Linked DNA regions of Homo sapiens: regions 1 and 3 are each linked to region 2. Evidence: promoter capture Hi-C in human tissues and cell types (Jung and others, 2019). All regions are on one chromosome and are shown on one strand. The core of a region is centred on a gene start or on the middle of the fragment in contact, and the rest is flanking DNA. Distances in the headings are between cores, read along the strand shown.

Evidence for each region. Contacts are between HindIII fragments. The study calls those that stand out against the background at their distance.
Region 1: a fragment that was not itself captured here is called in contact with the fragment with the promoter of SKOR2 in region 2 in 2 of the 25 tissues and cell types used here (dorsolateral prefrontal cortex and mesendoderm cells).
Region 3: a contact is called between a fragment that was not itself captured here and the fragment with the promoter of SKOR2 in region 2, in 2 of the 25 tissues and cell types used here (dorsolateral prefrontal cortex and mesendoderm cells).

The regions. Positions count from the first base shown.
Region 1 is chr18:47,556,407-47,559,106 of GRCh38, forward strand. The region is part of intron 1 of MIR4527HG (MIR4527 host gene); the gene reads left to right. Among named protein-coding and RNA genes, the nearest start is that of MIR4527, 180 kb to the left of the region's middle. The HindIII fragment of the contact is 3,638 bases long and covers 1-2,700 here.
Region 2 is chr18:47,250,309-47,253,008 of GRCh38, forward strand. SKOR2 (SKI family transcriptional corepressor 2) reads right to left here and starts at 1,352. Exons shown (of 9, transcript NM_001278063.4): 1 at 1,066-1,352. RefSeq lists an enhancer at 1,220-1,736. The HindIII fragment of the contact is 10,120 bases long and covers 1-2,700 here.
Region 3 is chr18:47,538,082-47,540,781 of GRCh38, forward strand. All of the region lies in intron 1 of MIR4527HG (MIR4527 host gene), which reads left to right. Among named protein-coding and RNA genes, the nearest start is that of MIR4527, 160 kb to the left of the region's middle. The HindIII fragment of the contact is 3,776 bases long and covers 1-2,700 here.

The sequences.
Region 1 (2,700 bases), core at 153-2,652, 310 kb after region 2:
CAATTCACTCTAATGGTTCCACCTTTTCATAGGCAGAATTGTGGCCCCCAAAGATGTCCACGCTTTGATCTCCATGAACCTGTGAATATGTTCCTTTACATGGCAAAAGGGTCTCTGTAGATGTGATTAAGATTTGTGTATCTTGAGATGGAAAGATTATTCTGGATTACTTGGGTGGGCCCGATGCAATCACATAAGTCCTTAAAAGCAAGGACTTTTCTAGGCTGTGGTCAGACAGAGATGACAGCATGAGAAGGATTCAATACCCTTTCTGGTTCTGTAAGCAGGAGGTTCTGTGCAAGAGCTGGAAAGAAGCCTCTGGAAGCTGGAGAGGCAAGAAAATGGATTCTCTCCTGGGGCCCCCAGAAAGGAGCACAGCTCGACATCGTGATTTTAGCCCAGTGACACTTGTGTTGGATTTCTAGCCTACAGAACTATAAGATGACAAATTTGTGTTTTTGATAACCACCATGTTTGTGGTAACTTGTTATAGGAGCAATACAAAACAAACACAACTTCCTTAAATATGACCTGGAAATGACCTCTCTCTTCCATCTTCCCCCTAGTCCAAGTCACCTAGACTCCTGCAAGAGCCTCCTCAGGCGTCCTTCCTCCCCCAATCCCTGCAATCAGCTGTCCACCAGAAGCCTAAGTGGTCTTTTGTTTTTCATCTTCTTATTTTGAAATAATTTCAACCAAGTAGAAAACCTGCAAGAAAAATACGAGAATTGTCACGCCTTCATCACCCATATCCATCCATCATCAACACTGTGCCACATTTGCTTGGTCACTCTCTCTCTCTCAGATCATGTCCACCCCTACTTAAGCCTCCAGTGGGTTCCCACTGCCTTGCCCTCCTCCTCATAGCCAGTAAAGGTGGATGTTGCCAGGCCCAGCCCACCTTATCCTGTGTTCCCTGTGCTTGCGGTACCCTGCCCGTTTCCGGGCCCTCCCTCCGCTGCCCTCTGGCTGTCATCTGTGTGCCTCGGCTCTAATGTCATCACCTTCCAGACCCTTTCTGTGATCATTCCACTAAAGCAGCCTCCTACTCCACCGCAGCTGCTCTTTATGGCGTTACCCTATTCATTTTTTTAAAACAGCATTTACCAGGCTCTGATGCCATCCCATTCATTTACTGCCTGCTTGTTTATTGTTCATTCACTCCCTGGTGTGTAGCTCTTTGGGCAGGACTCTGTCCGCCTCCTATCCTGAACTTCTAGAACAGCACCCAGTACATAGTAGTTGCTCAACAAATATCTATGGACTGACTGATTTTCTGTGACACATGACTGAACCCTTTTTGCAGATCCAATTGTTTACAGGTGTGTATCTTTTCTTAAGGGCAGGCGGGATTCTTTCATTTTTAAATTCTCCCCTCTCAGGGCTGGGCACACGACAGGACCCCATCTGGATATTGGGGGATTTTCTCTGAAAGTGCGAGCTTCTCGGTGTGGAGGGCCTTCCTGCCTTCCCCACACACCACGCTAACATCCAGCTGTGTAATCAAATGCACCCCCGAGGGAGGCCCAGGGTCATAAGAATGCCTTCCTTCTCCCTCACTGTTTTTCTTTTAGATTTGTCTAAGTGCTGTTAACTTTGCCATCTTGTCTGTTTTCCTCATGCCTGTTGTGGGGTAAACACACAGAGAGCATTAGCCCCATTTGATGGACGATGAAACTGAAGCAAAGGCAGGTTAAGTGGCTTGCCCAAGGTCACACAAGTAATTAACAGCAGGACAACTCCCCTGGTCCCTAGCCTGGTGCCTTCTCCTGCAGACCACAGAGCAGCAGCCTCTTGCCCTCCCCTCAGGGACTGAGGAGCCCAAACCTGATATTATGGGCACAAAGCTTTTAGCAGATGAGTGGAGGGCAGGAAGCTGTGTGGTTAGGTGAGCTCTGGGTATGTGTGTGTCTAATTGCTCTTCATTTCCTTTCCTTTCATTCACAGAGTCATTCATTCACTCAGGCAGACACTCATTCACGAGGCATTCACTGAGCACCTCCCACCTCCTTGGCTTTCTGTTTGGCGTAGAGGAGGATGCTAGAGAAGGAGGCAGGGGCCTCACAGGAGCCTGTTCTCACACATGGGAGACCCAACTCACATATGAGAGGCGATGAGGTAGGATTGGAGACCCCATTCTGGCAGGAGAGGCATTGACTCCTTTCAGATGAATGGAGGAACTCAGCACAAAGCTGTGCACAGCCACAAAACACTCACACTGGGATTGACTCCCTCCATGCAGGTAACTACCCCCAAGCTCCCTGCTGCTGTCTTCTCTAATAAGAGAACCCCTTCCCATACCCCACTCCCCGGCCCTCTGGGGATGGACTGAGCTTCTCTACCTACAGAACTTCCCCCACAGTGGCCAGTTCACAGGGAGGGACTGAAGATTGACCCAAACCTGTGCAATCAGGATCCTTTCTCAGATTTAAAACCCATATATGAGACAGGGAGCTCTGTTTCTGGGCTGGGGAGTGGCTGTGCTCACTGAAAAGGAGGGAGCATGATTACAAACCTACTATGCTCAGTCTCCTACCTCCATGCTTCAATGACAACTTAAATTCCACAACTTTCTGATCACTTTCAGTGAGGACAATCCTGTTCAGTTCAAAGTATAACTTCAAGTTCAGTTTGAACAGCATCTGTTTGCTTCTCCCCAGTGCAGTCTGAGAGGGTCCCCAACTCTCTTGAGGGTTGTCT
Region 2 (2,700 bases), core at 102-2,601:
TCACCTCCAGTCAACAGAATGCCACAATGAGGGAAAATATTCAGTAAGTTGAAAATACAGAACAAGGAAGCGGAAAGAAATTTTAGTGACAATGCCACTAAGTGGAAAGAAGGAAAGTGGCTCACTCCCTAGGAAAACAAACACTGATCTTTCCACAGCTACATCTCAAGCGCATTGGCCAAGGCATGCTTTGCCCTGAAAAATCACCAGAGGCCATAGCGTGGCCCCTTTCGGCCACGTACAGCGAGTTCGCTATTACAGTGCTTTCAGAGGGTACACGATCTTACTCCCTCACCCAATTTCTTATCCGTGTCCTCTCTCTGGGCCCCTGTGGCATCTATACAGCAGCCTCTGTCCTGCTGCCCCCTGGATCCTCAGTTCTCATTACATTTGGCGGCCTCCAGGAAGCTTGAACAAACCTCGACGCGATCAAAGGAGAGGAAAGCCTGCTTGTCACTTTGGGTGGATCAGAGACAATATTTCCAGGGGACAGGGCGTTACATGGCAGTTCAAGGCGCAGTGACACCCGAGTCTGATACAACCAACACTAGCTTCGTCAGGTGGCCCTTCGATGCTCATTTCCCTACCAAACAAGATTCATATCCGCTTAATAAGACCCTGGGATAATTCCAACTCTCGCTCCCCAGCAAGGCGCGCGGCTGGCCAGCCGGGGCGGGAAGCTGGCTCTGCGTTAAGGACTCGCAGCCTTAGCAGCAGTAGACCAGGCAGAAGTGTCTCCTCACTTTTACCCCAAGCCCTCCCAGAAACTGCCGTCAGAGCAGACACAAGGTTTTGGTTGGGGCATTATTTTTTGGGTGGGTGGGGAGGGGAGAAGAGACAATTAAAAGTTAGTTGAACTGAGAAAGGAACCTGGTGAACTTCCCTATCCTGCCCAACAGCCAAAGACCCCCCCACCCCCAACTTAGTTCTCCCGACTCCCAAACCAGTCACCACGGAAGCCCACCGCTGCCCCTCAACCTAACGCGGAAAATCCTACCGCTGGGGATCTCAAATAGGTGCCCAGCAAGCTGTGTGCCGGATTGGGGCGGCCGGTTCCGGCAATACCTGGTAACCTCTGGGTGTCTTTAGGCGTGTGGCTGCCGGCCCATCTTCCGAGGGCGCTCGGAGGCGAAGCATCCAAGCGGGTCCTCGTATCCAGCGGGCGGGACTCTGGCGGGCTCCGCGCGAAGATCCGGGCTCTGGCCCGAGCGAATGGCGCTCAAACCCCGGCCTGGGGAGAATGACGGCCTGAATTGCGGCGGGGCGTCCCCTCCACCGCAGAAAGTGTGGGTACGCAGAAACCCGCGGCAGGAGAGCCCCAAGTGGAGCGCAGTCTGACAGCGTCTGTCTCTGAACTCGTGTCGGACCGAGGGGACGCCACCCAGCGGGCAGGGTGACGTCACCGTCTCCCTGACACTCCACATTAAAGGGCTGGCATGTTACAGGGAGGGAGGGGGAGAGCGAAAGCCAGCGCGAGCAACAGAGAGATCCTTTCTCAGCAGGCACGAAAGCTACCAACCTAACCAACTCGCAATTGACAACAACCTCCTCAGCCCCGGAGTAAACTGCAGCAATGGTGCTGGAGCCGCAGATCTGATTTAGGAGTGGAAAGCGAACAGTCTGCCTGCATCCCGGGACCTAGATCCTGGAGGCCCCGGATTCTAGAAGGACGCCTCCAAATTAACTATATCCCTGACCGTTATTGTCTCCTCCCCTCATTTCTGAGTCACCCTCCTTCATGAATGATCCCTCTGGTACAGGATGCAAAGCTGCTCTGTGTCTGAAGACAGAATCCACAGTCAGCTGGAGAATAAATTAGCTTCAGTGACTCCTTTGAAACGCTATGAAATGAGAAAAAGGAGAGAAGTTTCCACATAGGGTGCCCAATCAGAAAACTTGGAGTGCCCCGACTTTTGCATATACATTTGCTTTATAGGACAAGATGCAGAGTCACTGCAGCCTTCTCTATTTTATGGAGTGTACAATTAGGTGAGGACCCCAATATGTGCATATGCACATCGATTTATCAAACTTCATTCAGAATCGTCCTCTAACCCATTTTACAAGATCCGTAAGGCTACCTCTACACAAGGAAAGGGTGGGGCAGGGAAGCAGGGAGGTCCCCCACATGGAAGAGTCCTTCAGCAAGTTGCCAATTTTCCTGGAGAAATAAATAAATTTAATCAGGAAAACATGTAGAAGCATGATCTCCTCCCCTAAAATAAAGACTAGGATGAGAAAACATTTCCTCACAGTTTCCCTAAATGAGGCGCACCCTAGTGTATTAATGAAGTGTCAATATAGTGCGTCCCAATTGACCAGCTGTTAAGAGTCAAAACGACCACTGGCTAGTTTATCGGAAAGGAAAGAAACCACTTATTTGGAGTATGTTCTAAGAAGGATGCCGGCTGGGGTGGGGCTGGGAAATCCTTTAAGTTTTTCCTTTACTACCATAGCTGAATTTTCAATTGCTGCCTAGTGAAACAGTCCTAGCATTGTGGAAATGATGGAAAAACATCTACCAAGCTGAAAGCCCACCCAGATTGTGTCATAGCACCAACAACATACCACTCCTAAATACAAGAGCAAAAATGTGAAATCTTAACCTTCATCAAAGGTTAATAAACCCAAGGAAAGTCAATTGAACAGAAACGTGAGGGGCTTGTTGCTCAGGAGTTGTGTCTATTTTAAATTAATATC
Region 3 (2,700 bases), core at 48-2,547, 290 kb after region 2:
CAAAGAGAGCCAAATATATTTCAGAAACACAAATATGTTCATTTAACTAGTTGAACTAAAGCTAGATACTCTTTCACAAAATTAGTTTTTTTAAAAAAGATCATAAATTGCCATGTGCACACTTTTCTCCCCTGCTGGGTTATTGAATCCAGTTTGGTCTTGAGAGGTCACACTCTCAAACCTCTGCTCCTGCCATGAGTGGACTCTATAGCACCCAGGCTAAGTCACACAAGCATAGGGTCACAGGTTATGGAAAGAGCCTCAGCAGAAAACCAAGAGGACTTGGCTCAAGTGCTAGCTCTTCCAGAAGCTTCCAGCAGTGGAACATCAGGTTGGTAACATCACCTTTAGGACAGCAACACTGATCTAACCATGTCAAAGGTTTCCCTCAAATCTGAAATTTTATGACTGTGTGTCTTAGTGATGTGGGGTAGATTTGAGATTGTTGGAGGGAAGTGCATTGGGCAATGCCAACATCTATCCAACATCTACCATGTGGCAGGTGCCAGAGTGGGCACCAGGGATACACCAGTAATTTAAATACACAAACATCCCACCCACGGGAAGTTTACATTTCAGGGTGGGAGACAGGCAACAGACAGATAAATAAATGAGTATGTAACAGATTGAGAATATGTCCTGTGCTAAATTCTAGCTAAGAGGGCAGGATAAGAACCAAAAATTCCCTGTAAGACTTGGCAGCAGGAAGGTAAAACTGGGGACCTGGAGAAGAACAGTTTTGTTTTTTTTTTAATACTTTAAGTTCTAGGGTACATGTGCACAATGTATAGGTTTGATACATAGGTATACATGTGCCATGTTGGCTTGCTGCACCCATCAACTAATCATTCACATTAGGTGTTTCTTCTAATGCTATCCCTCCCTCAGCCCCCTACCCACTGACAGGCCACAGTGTGTGATGTTCCCTGCCCCGTGTCCAAGTGATCTCATTGTTCAGTTCCCACCTATGAGTGAGAACATGCGTTGTTTGGTTTTCTGTCCTTGTGATAGTTTGCTGAGAATGATGGTTTCCAGCTTCATCCATGTCCCTGCAAAGGACATGAACTCATCCTTTTTTATGGCTGCATAGTATTCCATAGTGTATATGTGCCACAGTTTCTTAATCCAGTCTATCATTGGTGGACATTTGGGTTGGTTCCAAGTCTTTGCTATTGTGAATAGTGCCACAATAAACATACGTGTGCATGTGTCTTTATAGTAGCATGATTTATAATCCTTTGGGTATACACCCAGTAATGGGATTGCTGGGTCAGATGGCAATTCTAGTTCTACATCCTTGAGGAATCGCCACACTGTCTTCCACAATGGTTGAACTAATTTACACTCCCACAAACAATGTAAAAGCATTCCTATTTCTCCACATCCTCTCCAGCATCTGTTGTTTCCTGACTTTTTAATGATTGCCATTCTAACTGGCATGAGGTGGTGTCTCATTGTGATTTTGATTTGCATTTCTCCAATGGCCAGAGATGATGAGTATTTTTTCATGTGTCTGTTGGCTGCATAGAAGTCTTCTTTTGAGAAATGTCTGTTCATATCCTTTGCCAGCTTTTTGATGGGTTTGTTTTTTTCTTGTAAATTTAAGTTCTTTGTAGATTCTAGATATTAGCCCTTTGTCAGATGGGTAGATTGCAAAAATTTTCTCCCATTTTGTAGGTTGTCTGTTCACTCTGATGGTAGTTTCTTTTGCCGTGCAGAAGCTCTTTAGTTTAATTAGATCCCATTTGTCTATTTCAGCTTTTGTTTCCATTGCTTTTAGTGTTTTAGTCATGAAGTCCTTGCCCATGCCTATGTCCTGAATGGTATTGCCTAGGTTTTCTTCTAGAGTTTTTATGGTTTTAGGTCTAACATTTAAGTCTTTAATCCAGCTTGAATTAATTCTTGTATAGGTGTAAGGAAGCGATCCAGTTTCAGCTTTCTACATATGGCTAGCCAGTTTTCCCAGCACAATTTATTAAATAAGGAATGCTTTCCCCATATCTTGTTTTTGTCAGGTTTGTCAAAGATTGGCTGGTTGTAGATGTGTGGTGTTATTTCTGAGGCCTCTGTTCTGTTCCATTGGTCTATCTCTCTGTTTTGGTACCAGTACCGTGTTGTTTTGGTTGCTGTAGCCTTGTAGTATCGTTTGAAGTCAGGTAGAGTGATGCCTCCAGCTTTGTTCTTTTTGCTTAGGATTATCTTGGCAGTGCGGGCTCTTTTTTGGTTCCATACGAACTTTAAAGTAGTTTTTTCCAATTCTGTGAAGAAAGTCATTGGTAGCTTGATGGGGATGGCATTGAATCTATAAATTACTTTGGGCAACACGGCCATTTTCACGATATTGATTCTTCCTATCCATGAGCATGGAATATACTTCCATTTGTTTGTGTCCTCTTTTATTTCCTTGAGCAGCGGTTTGTAGTTCTCCTTGAAGAGGTCCTTCACATCCCTTGTAAGTTGGATTCCTAGGTATTTTATTCTCTTTGTAACAATTGTGAATGTGAGTTCACTCATAATTTGGCTCTCTGTTTGTCCGTTAATGGTGTATAGGAATGCTTGTGATTTTTGCACATTCATTTTGTATCCTGAGACTTTGCTGAAGTTGCTTATCAGCTTAAGGAGATTTTGGGCTGAGACAATGGGGTTTTCTAAATATACAATCATGTCATCTGCAAACAGGGACAATTTGACTTCCTCTTT